Linked DNA regions of Homo sapiens: region 2 is linked to region 1. Evidence: promoter capture Hi-C in 16 types of primary human blood cells and fetal thymus (Javierre and others, 2016). All regions are on one chromosome and are shown on one strand. The core of a region is centred on a gene start or on the middle of the fragment in contact, and the rest is flanking DNA. Distances in the headings are between cores, read along the strand shown.

The links. The method cuts DNA at HindIII sites, captures the fragments that hold promoters and counts their contacts. A CHiCAGO score of 5 or more calls a contact.
Region 2: a contact is called between a fragment that was not itself captured here and the fragment with the promoter of IL21R in region 1, in 5 of 17 cell types (total CD8 T cells, total B cells, naive B cells and 2 more). The highest score is 6.4, in total CD8 T cells.

Annotation. Positions count from the first base shown.
Region 1 is chr16:27,397,636-27,403,423 of GRCh38, reverse strand. IL21R (interleukin 21 receptor) reads right to left here and starts at 1,250. Exons shown (of 9, transcript NM_181078.3): 1 at 806-1,250. RefSeq lists enhancers at 619-738, 631-1,173. The HindIII fragment of the contact is 2,346 bases long and covers 1-2,046 here.
Region 2 is chr16:27,117,237-27,123,629 of GRCh38, reverse strand. No RefSeq gene overlaps it. Among named protein-coding and RNA genes, the nearest start is that of C16orf82, 54 kb to the right of the region's middle. The HindIII fragment of the contact is 827 bases long and covers 4,538-5,364 here.

The DNA.
Region 1 (5,788 bases), core at 1-2,500:
CCTCCTGGCTTTGAATGTCCCGCACCTGGTCTTCTGCCTTCACTGAGCAGAGACGTCATTCCTGCGGCAAGTCCTAAGTTCCCGCTCCCCAGGGCTCCTCCACCAGGAATGTTCTTCCTTTCCCATCCTTCAAGGCTCAGCCTCCACTGACCTCCCCACCCTCCTCTCCTCCACATGCACAGGGAACTGGGTTGGCCTCTTACCATCCGACCCGTTCCCCGTGCTTCATGAGAAAGATGCAGCGACAGCTCATGGGGTCACCTGGCTTGACTGCCCGACCTGCTACGTCCCAGTTGAGTCACCGAGGGAAAATCACTCTACCTCTCGCAGCCTCATTGCCTCATCTGCGAAATGGGCACACCAGCCATTGTTTTGAATGACTGGGTGGAATCAAGGTGGTAAGACATAGAAACTGACACAGAATGGGTCCCATCAGGCTCTACACCCATGCCCGTCACCTCCCGACTCAGCCGCCCAGAATCGGGTGATTGACATGTTATGTTTGGCTTGAAACTGGCTTTCCTTCCCCAGCCCGCTACATTTTGGAGGCTGGTTTTCAAGATAGAGGGTCGTCTCAGCCACATCCCTGCTGCTGGGCCCCTAAGCTGTGCTGAACAAGAGACCCCAACCTCATTTCTGCCCAGCCTCACTGCATGAATCTTCTTTGCCTCAGTGTCCCCAATTGTGACTTGGGCACAGTCCTCCGAGCCCTCCCACTGTGACACTAGATGCAGCAGGCAGGGAACAGTCCCTCCTGGGCAGAGAAGGCACCCTGGTCCCAGCAGAAAACCAGGGCTGGAATTACCTTCTGTTTCGGCTTCTTTCTCAGAAATCCATTCCGTGTGCTGGGGGCAGTCTGATGGGCTTCTGGGGGTGGCAGCTGGGTTCAGCGTGGGGGTGACAGATGAGGGTCTGAGAAAGCAGGCAGAGGCCTGGGGTGAGAATCCACACCCAGCCCGAGTCACCAATCAGGCTGTCATAAGACCTGTCACTCTGATGACGGGCAGCTGGGCCTCCAGGCAGGTGTCCCACAGAGCAGCAGACAGAGGAAAGAGACGGCAAGGAAGGTACCAGGCGGCCGCAGCAGGGATGCACGGGCCGCAGACAGACAGACACAGCTGCGTGGCTGTCAGCCACACTCAGGGAGAGGCAGGCAGAGGGCCAGACGCCGAGCTTACGGTCACTCAGCAGAGAGACGCCAGTGGGTCTGTCTGAGGCCGCTGGCTGCCACCCAGCCGCATGTGCAGAGTGGGGAGGAAGAGGAGGATGTGGTGAGCCGCTCCCCGCCAGCCCCGCCCACCCGCAGCTGGGCTCCTCCTGGGAGGGAGTGAGAAAGAGGTGGGAGGGGGCCTGGCCCCACAGCAGGCACCCACTGTCACCAAAGGTCACCTGCAAGTAAGACATTTGGGGCCATCGGGGTGACACTTCCCTCTTAGGGACCTGTGACATCATCCCCACAGGCCTCTCAGTCATAACCCATGAGGCAGGCAGTGCCTCCTGGAGCCACCACATTGCACAGATATGGAAACTGAGGCCAGAGGTGTGAAGATGTGGCACAGTTTCACCCGTGGACCCAGAGTCCTCAGTGGCCGACTCCAGCCCCTCAGCACAGAGAGAAGGACCAGAACCTTGCCCAAGGTCCCACGGAAGCCCCTTTTTCAGACTTTGCAAACCAGCCTGTTTCTTATTCCTGAGCCTTACCTGCCTAATAGGGTCTGAGCTTGGGACCCTCTGCTCTGGCTTGACCCCCATGCCTCTCTGCCTCCATTTCCTTTGGATCCAGTCTCCTGCTGCAGAGCTCCAGGGAGCAGGACCCCTTGGGCACGTCACATCACCTCTCTGAATGCCTCACTTTGCCCATCTGTCAAATGGGGGCACCTAGCTATGAGGAAGAGGGCAGACATTAACACATGAGAATTCAAGAAGAAAATAGAGAAAAGAAATTCTCAAGAGAGTTTTCATCTTGCTAACATGCCAGAGGCCCATGAGAGGGTCAGATGTTTCTGGAAGACATTCAAGAAACCAGGAGACAAAATGTAACAAGCTTAATGCCTAGTGCAGTCTCCAAAGGAGAGCAAGAGAATTGCTACCACCACCACCGCTACCACCACCACCACTACCACTGCCATCACCACCACCTCGAATTACTTTGGTGCCTACATGATCTCACTTTATCCCACAAAGTGTGAGGCAGACAAGATTAGTCCCATTTTACAGATGGAGAGACTGAGGCCCAGAGGAGTGAAACGTCACACAAGCCAAGAAGAATTAGAGCTGGGATTTGAACCTGGGTGTGTTTGATTCCTAAGCTTATACCAGGCTGTGAAAACGGGGCCATACCAGGATGAAATGTCCCACAGTTGGGGGAGGCTATTTTATGCTGTTTTGATAACAAGATGCAATTTGTAGCTCTCCCTGCTGACTCATTTTTGGGAATCAACTTGCTGTTGACTTTCGTGACCACTCCAGAGAAAAAAGAGAAAGCGTCTTGCTATTCTTTCTTTCTTTTTTTTTCTAGCTGTTTTTGAGGAACTTGGTACAAATTCCCCTGTGGTTGATTTGAGGGATCCTGGCCCTGTAGAGCTCTTCCCAGCTACCGAAGTGTGTCGTGTTCTCTGGAGAACGAACCTTGGGAAGACACCAGCTTTTGTTTTTCTTTCTCTTGATCTTCGGGGTGAATTCTCTGATAACATGCACTGAAATTTGTAGTGGTTGAAAGATCAGGAGAAGAGACAGTAAAAAGAGCTAATATTTGCTGAAAGCTCATTGTGTGCCAGGGTTTTAAGGACTTTAAAGATGCACCCTCTCATTTAAACCTCAGAAATACTCGAGAAGGCTGTGTGCAGCGGTGCACACCTATAATTCCATCATTTTGGGAGGCTGAGGTGGGAGGATCGATTGAGGCTAGGAGTTCAAGACCAGTCTGGGCAACATAGCAAGACCCTGTCTCTATAAAAAAATTTAAAAATTAGACAGTCATGGTGGTGCACGCCTGTAGTCCCAGCTACTCTGGAGGCTGAGGTGGGAGGACCACTTGAGCCAAGGAGCTGAAGGCTGCAGTGAGCTATGACTGTAGTGCTGCACTCAAGCCTGGGCAACAGAGCAAGACTCTGTCTTCAAAAATAAAATCCCCAAAATGAAAAAGAATGAGTCTAGAAGATAGTTATCATCATCATCATCATCGTCCCTGTTTTACAGATGAGGAAACTGAGGCTCAGAGAGGTTAAGTGACTTGTCCAAGGTCACACAGCTGATGAGTGCCAGAGTTGGGATTTGAACTCAGTCATTTGGGCTCCAGAGCCCGCACTCTTAACTCACTACACTGCTCTGGGGTGTGTATGAAAACAAGGATATTCAATTTCTCCTCCCTCCCTCCTGCCTGCCTTCTTTATCTACCTGCTTTCTACCCACCCACCTACCTATCCACCCATTCATTCTTCTCTGCACCCACCCACCCAGCCATTCCTTGCTTCCTCCCCCTAATATTTATTGAGCAGGCTCAGAGAGGTTAAGTGACTTGTCCAAAATCACGCAGCTTGGCTACATCCTGGGGCTAGCCCACAGAAATATACACACAGTGACAGCCCCCATGGAGCCTATATTCTAGTAGGGAGAGTTAGACAAAAAGAAGTAACAGACAAACTCAATGTAAACTGTACTAAATGTCATAGAAAACCAATGAGAGATCAAGGTTGTGACATTTGGGGGTACACTAGGTGCTAAGAAGTGCCCAGCCATGGGAAGAACATTATCGGCAGAAGGATCTGCAAGTGCAAAGGCACTGAGGTAGGAAAGAATGTGGCTGGCTCCAGGAACTTGAGAACAGCATGGCGTAATACAGTGAGCAAATGGAGGAATAGTAGAAGGTGAAGGCACGGAAATCACACATCTACACCACATGGGACCTCACGGTTTTGGGTGAGGAAGGTAGATTGTTCCAAAGGAAATGGGAAGTCATCATTGGAGGGTTTCATCTTAAGAGTGGCTTAATCCAGTTTACATTTTCAGTTCAGGCCAGGAGTTGGGGAATGGGTGGGATCAGCAGGGGTCACAGTCCCTTGGTGCTTAAAAAGTAGATGCATTTGGAGCTGCCAGGCCCATGTCCACTGGGGTAAACATGAGTCCCCTCAGAAATAGACATGTGGTCCCTTGAGGGGTTCCTCTGGGTCTGTAAATGTCTCATAAGTATGGCCTCTATACCCTTGGAAGGAAGGTGCCATAGGATCTCAGCGGCCCTCCAACCATGCCTCAGTGCTGATAGCTGGTCAGCGGGGAGGAAGTGGTCACATTTGCATTTCAGCCAAGGGGCCTCCTGGGAAAAAATAATTGACACACCCCCTCCCTCAACCCATTTCCTCTTTTTTATTTTTATTTTAAGAGCTTTATTTAGCTATGTTTTACATAACATAAAATCAAGCCACTGTAAATGTACAGTTCAATGATTTTTAGTGAATTTATCGAATTGTGCAATTATAACCACGATCCAATTTTAAAACAATCCCATCACTCCTGAAAGGTTCCTTGTGCCTGCTTATAGTCAATCTCCATTCCCATTCCCAGGGCCACTCGTCTACTTTATGCCTCTACTGATTTTGCTTTTTTTTTTTCCTAGGCATCTCATATCAATATGTTGTCTTTTGTGTTTAGTTTCTTTCAGCATCGCGTGTTTGGGGTTCAACCACGTTGTAGCGTGTGTTGGCACCACATATCTAAAAATCCATTTTTAGGCCAGGCGCGGTGGCTCATGCCTGTAATCTCAACACTTTGGGAGGCCAAGGTGGGCGGATCACTTGAGATCAGGAGTTCGAGACCAGCTTGGACAACATGGTAAAACCCCGCCTCTACTAAAAAATACAATAATTAGCCTGGTGTGGTTGCACACGCCGGGAGATTGAGACCAGCCTGGCCAACATGGTGAAACCCTGTTCTACTAAAAATACAAAAATTAGTTAGGTATGGTGACGTGCACCTGTAGCCCTAGCTACTCAGGAGGCTGAGGCAGGAGAATTGCTTGAACACGGGAAGTGGAGGTTGCAGTGAGCAGAGCTAGTGCCACTGCCCTCCAGCCTGGGAGACAGAGCGAAACTCCATCTCAAAAAAATAAAAAATAAAAATTGATTTTTATTGCTGAAGAATATTACATTGCATAGATATGCCACATTCATTTATCCTTTCATGAGATGATGGACATTTGGAGTATGTCCACTTTTTCCTTTACTACAAACAAGCATGCTATGAACACTTGCATGCGAGTCTTTGTGTAGACATGCATTTTCAAATCTTTTGGATATATACCCAGAAGGAGACTTGTTGAGTTAAAGGTAGTTTAACTTATTAACTTTTAAATAAGTTTAACTTATTAAGAAACTGACAAACTGTTTTTCACAGCAGCTGCCCTGTATTATATTCCCACCAGCAATGTCTGAAGGTTCCCATTTCTCTACGTCCTTGACAATATGTATTTTCTTTTTTTTTTTTTTCTTTTTTTTTTTTTTTTTGAGATGGAGTCTCGGTCTGTCGCCCAGGCTGGAGTGCAGTGGCGCGATCTCGGCTCACTGCAAGCTCCGCCTCCCGGGTTCACGCCATTCTCCTGCCTCAGCTTCCCGAGTAGCTGGGACTACAGGTGCCTGCCACCACGCCTGGCTAATTTTTTGTATTTTCTTTTGTAGAGACGGGGTTTCACCGTGTTAGCCAGGATGGTCTCGATCTCCTGACCTCGTGATGCGCCCGCCTCGGCCTCCCAAAGTGCTGGGATTACAGGCGTGAGCCACCGCACCCAGCAGACAAT
Region 2 (6,393 bases), core at 3,702-6,201, 280 kb after region 1:
CCTGCTCCCCATTTTGTAAGTCTAAGGAATGTAAGCCATTTTCTTACAATTCATTTGCTTTTCGTATATTCACACAATTGTGCGTCAATCATCTCCATCAATTTAAAAACATTTTCATTACTCCAATAACATATTCATCCCTCAGCCATCACCCCAAACTCTCCCACTCTCCCACATCCCATGGCCACAGCCCTAGACAACCGCTAATCTACGTTTTGCGTCTGTAGATTTGCCTATTCCGGACATTTCAAATAAATTGAATCCTATATGGTTTTTTGAGACTTGCTTCTTTTTTTAAATTAGAATAATGTTTTCAAGGTTCATTCATGTCGTAGCATGTATCAGTGCTCCATTTCTTTCTTTCTTTCTTTTTTTTTGAAACAGAGTCTCGCTCTGTCGCCCAGGCTGGAGTGCAGTCTCGGCTCACTGCAACTTCCGCCTCCCAGGTTCAAGTAATTCTCCTGTTTCAGCCTCCTGAGTAGCTGGGACTACAGGTGCCCACCATGACGCCCAGTTAATTTTTGTATTTTTAGTAGAGATGGGGTTTCATCCTATTGGTCAGGTTGGTCTCAAACTCCTAACCACAGGTGATCCACCCGCCTCGGCCTCCCAAAGTTCTGGGATTACAGGCGTGAGCCACGGTGACTGGCCGCTTCATTTCTTTTTATTGCTGAATAATATTCCATGGTATGGATAGACCACAATTTATTTATCTGTTCATCAGTTGATGGATGTTGGGTTGTTTCCACTTTTTGGCTATTATGAATAATGCCACCATAAATATTTTTGACAAGATGTTGTGTGGACATATGTTTTCATCCTTTGGGGCATATCCTTAGGAGGAGAATTGCTGATTCACATGATAACGCTATGTGATGGTTAATATTAGGTGTCAACTTGATTGAATTGAAGGATGCCTAGATGGCTGGTAAAGTATTGTTTCTGGGTGTTCCTATGAGGGTGTTGCCAGAGAAGATTGACATTTCAGTTAGTGAACTGGGAGAGGAAGACCCACCCTCAATGTGGGTGGGCACTATCCAATCGGCTGCCAGCACAGCCAGAACAAAGCGGGCAGAAGAAGGTGGGATAGACTTGTTTGCCTAGTCTTCTGGTTTCTTTCTTCTTCCCATGGGGAATGCTTGCTTCTGCTCCTCCTGCTCTTGGACATCAGACTCCAGGTTCTCCAGCCCTTCGGACTGCGACTTGCACCAGCAGCTTGCTGGGGGCTCTTGGGCCTCTGGCTGCAGACTGAAGGCTGCACTATCAGCTTCCCTGGTTTTGAGGCTTTTGGACTCAGATTGAGCCACTACTGGCTTTTCTCTTCCCCAGCTTGCAGACGGCCTATTGTGGGACTTTGCCTTGTAATTATGTGAGCTAATTCTCCCTAATGAACTCCCTTTCATATATACATATATCCTGTTTGTTCTCTGCCTCTGAGAACCTTGACAAATACACTCTATGTTCAACTTTTTGAGAAACTGCCAGACTGTTTTCCAAAGTGGTTGCACCATTTTCCATTCTCATCAGCAGTGTATGAGGGTTCCTATTTTCCCACATCCTTACCTTGTTATTATCTGTATTTTGATTGTAGCCATCTAGTGAGTGTAAAGTAGTATTTCATTGTGGTTTTGATTTGCATGTACTTGATGGATAATGATGTTAAACATCTTTTCCTGTGCTTATTGGCAATTTGTAGATTTTGTTTGGAGGCATGTGTATCAGATTTCGGCATGTCCATTTTCAAACTGCATTATTTGTGTTTTTAAATTTTAATTTGATTTTATTATTTATTTTTTTGACACAGAGTCTCACTCTGTCACCCAGGCTGGAGTGCAGTGGTGTGATCTCAGCTCACTGCAGCCTCCGCCTCCTGGGTTCAGATGATTCTCCTGCTTCAGCCTCCTGAGTAGCTGGGATTATGGGCATGTGACACCACCCCCAGCTAATTTTTTGTATTTGTAGTCGAGATGGGGTTTCACTTTGTTGTCCCAGCTGGTGTCAAACTCCTGACCTTGGGTGATCTGCCCCCCTCAGTCTCCCAAAGTGCTGGGATTACAGGTGTGAGCAACCAAGCCTGGCCTTATTTGTGCTTTTATTATGGATTTGTAGTAGTTTTATATGTTTGAGACTTAAATCCCTTACAAATATGATTTGCAAAATTTTTCTCCTATTCTTTGGATTATCTTTTCACTTTCTTAATGGTGTCCTCTGAAGTAAGTTTTAGATTGTGATGAAGTCTAATTTATCTAGTGTTATTTTTCTTGCTTATGATTTTGGTATCAGATCTAAGGTCCAAATTCAATTCTTTCTCTGATTTTTAAGAGTCTGATAGTTTTAGCTGTTAAAATTTAAACCTTTGATTCATTCTGAGTAATTTTTGTATATGGTGTGAGGTAGGGATTCAACATTATTCATTCTTTTACATGTAGATATCCAGTTGTCCCAGCACCTTTTATTGAAAAAACTATCCCTTTCCCATTGAATAGGCCCTTGCCCCAAATTAATCAACCATAGTTATACGGATTTATTTCTGGAATCTAATTTTTTCCACTGATACATATGCCAATACTGCACTGTCTTGATTACTGTAGTTTTGTAGTAAGTTTTGAAACTGAGAAGTGTGAATTCTTGAACTTTTACTTTTTTTAAGATTCAAGATGGAATTCTTGGATTTCTATAAGAATTTTGGGATAAGCTTGTCAATTCCTGAAAGGAGACAAGCTAGGATAAGAATGCTACAAGAAAAGAAAATCACAGGTCAATATCCCTGATGAGTAAAGGTAAGAAAACTGGATAGGCACATGCAAAAGAATAAAATTGGACACTTGGTTTACACCATATACAAAAGTTAATTCAAAATGTATTTAAATCTTAAATGTAAGATCTGAAACCATAAAACTCATGGAAGAAAACATAGGGGAAAAGCTCCTTGTCATTGATCTTGGCAATGAATTTTTTGATATAACATCAAAAGCACAGACAACAAAAGGAAAAACAAACAAGTGGGACTACATCAAGCTAAAAAGCTTCTGCACACCAAAGAAAACAATAAGTGAAATGCAAAGGCAAACTATGGAATGGGATAAAATATTTGTGAACTGTACATCTCATAAGGGGCTAATAACAAAAATATAGAAAGAACTCACATAACTTAATAGCAAAACCAATCAACCAAATAACCCCCCAAAACAAAACAACACAAAAAACTCCCAAACCCAAATAATGCTATTTAAAAATTGGCAGAGCATCAGGAAGAATAGCTAATGGATGCTGGGCTTAATACCAAAGTGATGGGTTGATCTGTGCAGCAAACCACCATGGTACACCTATGTAACAAACCTGCACATTCTGCACATGTACCCCAGAACTCAAAATAAAAGTAAAAGGAAAAAAAGTAAAGTAAGAGTATAGATTGGAAAAAAAAAATTGGCAAAGGATCTGAATAAACATTTTTCTAAGGAAGACATACAAATGGCCAACAGGTATATGAAAAAGTGCTCAATATCACTAATCATCAGATAAATGCAAACAAAACTACAGTGAGATATCTCGCACCTGTTAGGATGACTATTATCAAAAAGATAAGAGTTGGCAAGTGCTGGTGAGGGTGTAGAGAAAAAGAAATGCTTATACACTGTTGGTGGAAATGGAAATTAGTATAGCCATTAGGGCAAACAGTATGGGGGTTCCTCAAAAAGCCACAAATACAAGTACCACATGATCCAGCCATCTAACTTCTGGGTATATAGCTAAAGGCTGTGAAATTGCTATGTCGAAGAGGTATCTGCACCTCATGTTCATTGCAGCTGTATTCACGGTAGCCAAGATATGGAAACAACCTAAATATCCATGGATGGATGAATGGAGAATATTATTCAGCCATAAAAAGGAATGAAATCCTGTCTTTTGCAACAACATGGATGAACTTAGAGGAAATTATGGGAAGTGAAATAATCTAGACCCAGAAAGACAAATAATGTATGGTCTTATTTATATGTAGAATATTAAAAAGTTGAATTCATAGAAGTAGAGAGTAGAACAGTAGTTACTGGGTACATGGGGAAATGGTGGTCACAGGGCACAAACATTCAGTTATAACATGAACAAATTCTGGGGATCTGGTGTATGACATGGGTGATGATGGATATGTTAATGAATTTGATTGTGGTCATCATTAAACAATGTATATCAAATCATCAGTCATACACCTTAAAATATAAAATCTTTTTGTCAATTAAATACTAAACAAACACATAAAAAATCCAATATATGCACTGCTGAATTGGAGGTGGAACAGAATTTTACAAACTTCAATAACTCACACTGCATCATTAATGCTTTTTTGCCATATTCGGGTACCACCTATACTACTACTAACTTAATAGTCTTCTTTAAAGAGAGTCAATTTTAAAAAATAAATTTATTTAAAAGGAAACTTTACTTTGTCACCCTACATGGAAAATTGGCATCATTTTCCGTAAATAGGAGGTAATCATGAAAATGAATATGATGGGAACACACCAGTGTTTTGTAAGCTTAAGTAGAATATTCTCTTTTCTCTTGAAGGCTCTAAATCTGAGGTCAGTGCTTTATATATTGATAAAGACTAGCAGTGTTAGACTTTTAGGGAGGTGTTAAAGACATATTATCACCAAGCTGAGACTTTCTCATAATTATGAGGCTTTTGAGATAATTGATCTGGGAAGAATTTTCTCATTACGCAGCTCAATGTTTTTTAACGCTTTATTTATTTTCACCAAAAATTATCGTATTTACCATCTAAAATTGTGTTCCATTATGGGTCTGTGTCTGTGGTAGAGAAAATTATTGCTCTCAAAATATCCACCGTCTTCTCTAAGTTTCTCAACTTCCTTTGCAGATGGTTGGGATCATGTGACTTCTTCTGGGCACTGGCTGGTGAGTGCTACTATTGGGCTGTGGCAGTGAAGTGCCGTTTCACTGCTGGGCTGTGGCAGTGTAATGCTAGTGGGCTTTTTCCAGCTCCCTTTTGCATTCCATCCTCCTCCTTGCATTCCAGATATCACAGCCATAGGGACACCTGGACTCTACATGAGTGAGAAATACATTTACTGTGCCAAAGCACTGAGATTTCAGGTTAATTTGTTACTGCAGCATAGTCCAGGGGCACCCAATCTTTTGGCTTCCCTGGGCCACATTGGAAGAACTGTCTTGGGCCACACATAAAATACACTAACACTAATGATGGCTGATAAGCTAAAAAAAAAAAAAAAGCGCCATGCATAAATCTCATAATGTTTTATGAAAGTTTTTGAATTTGTGTTGGGCCACATTCAAAGCCATTCTGGGCTGCATGTGGCCTGCAGGCTGCAGGCTGGACAAGCTTGGTTTAAGCTATTCTGACTGTTGTGAACATGTGGCCCCCACTTGGGAAATATTATCTTTGAAAAACTTTTTTTTTTTTTTTTTTTTTTGAAATGGAGTCTCATTCTCTTGCCCAGGCTGGAGTGCAGTGGTGCTATCTCAGCTCACTGCAACCTCTGCCCTCTGGGTTCAAGCAATTCTCCTGCCTCAGCCTCTCAAGTAGCTGGGATTACAGGTGCACGCCACCATGCCCGCCTAACTTTTGTATTTTTGGTAGAAATGGAGTTTTGCCATGTTGACCATGCTGGTCTCGAACTCCTGACCTCAAGTGATTTGCCCGCCTCAGCTTCCCAAAGTGCTGAGATTACAGGCGTGAACCACCACGCCCGGCCTTTCTTTGAAAAACTTTTGACTAATGTTGGGCCTTCTCAGTTGGGACCCTTATTTCCTTTCTCCTACTCTCCTCCCTTACTGTTTCCTATTCTTCTTCCTTCTCTCTTCCTCCTCCCCTCCCCATGCATTCAGCTAATTCCGTCTCTGATTACCCAACATCACTCTGGGCTCTGCTGGAAGACTCAGAGCCTATAAAGCTTCAGAGGGGCCTCAGTGTTATTTTAGTCAGGCAAACTCCACAGGTAGGAGTTACTTCTCCACACCTCTGACAGTGTCACTTGCATACCTGCAGGAATAGGAAACTCGCTTCCTTTCATGGTAGTCCTTTCCATCACTGGGCAGCTCCATCTAAGAGGCACTTTCTCTTGTGATTAATCAGACAACATTTACACCCCCAGTCATTTCTACTCTTCCCCATGCAGAGTTCTTGCAGAATAGCTGTCCCTGATAAGGACAGCCCTTCCGAGGCCCAGGAAGAAGTCTCAAGGCTTCTCAGGCTCATTCAAGTCGCAAGACACACACACACCCAATGGAGGATTCTGGCAACGTACCATGTGGTAGAAATGTCAGTCCACATCTCAGGTGCATGGGAAATATCACTCTCTTTATTCATTCACTTCACACTATGGTTGGGATGTTTGTCTCCTCCAAATCTCA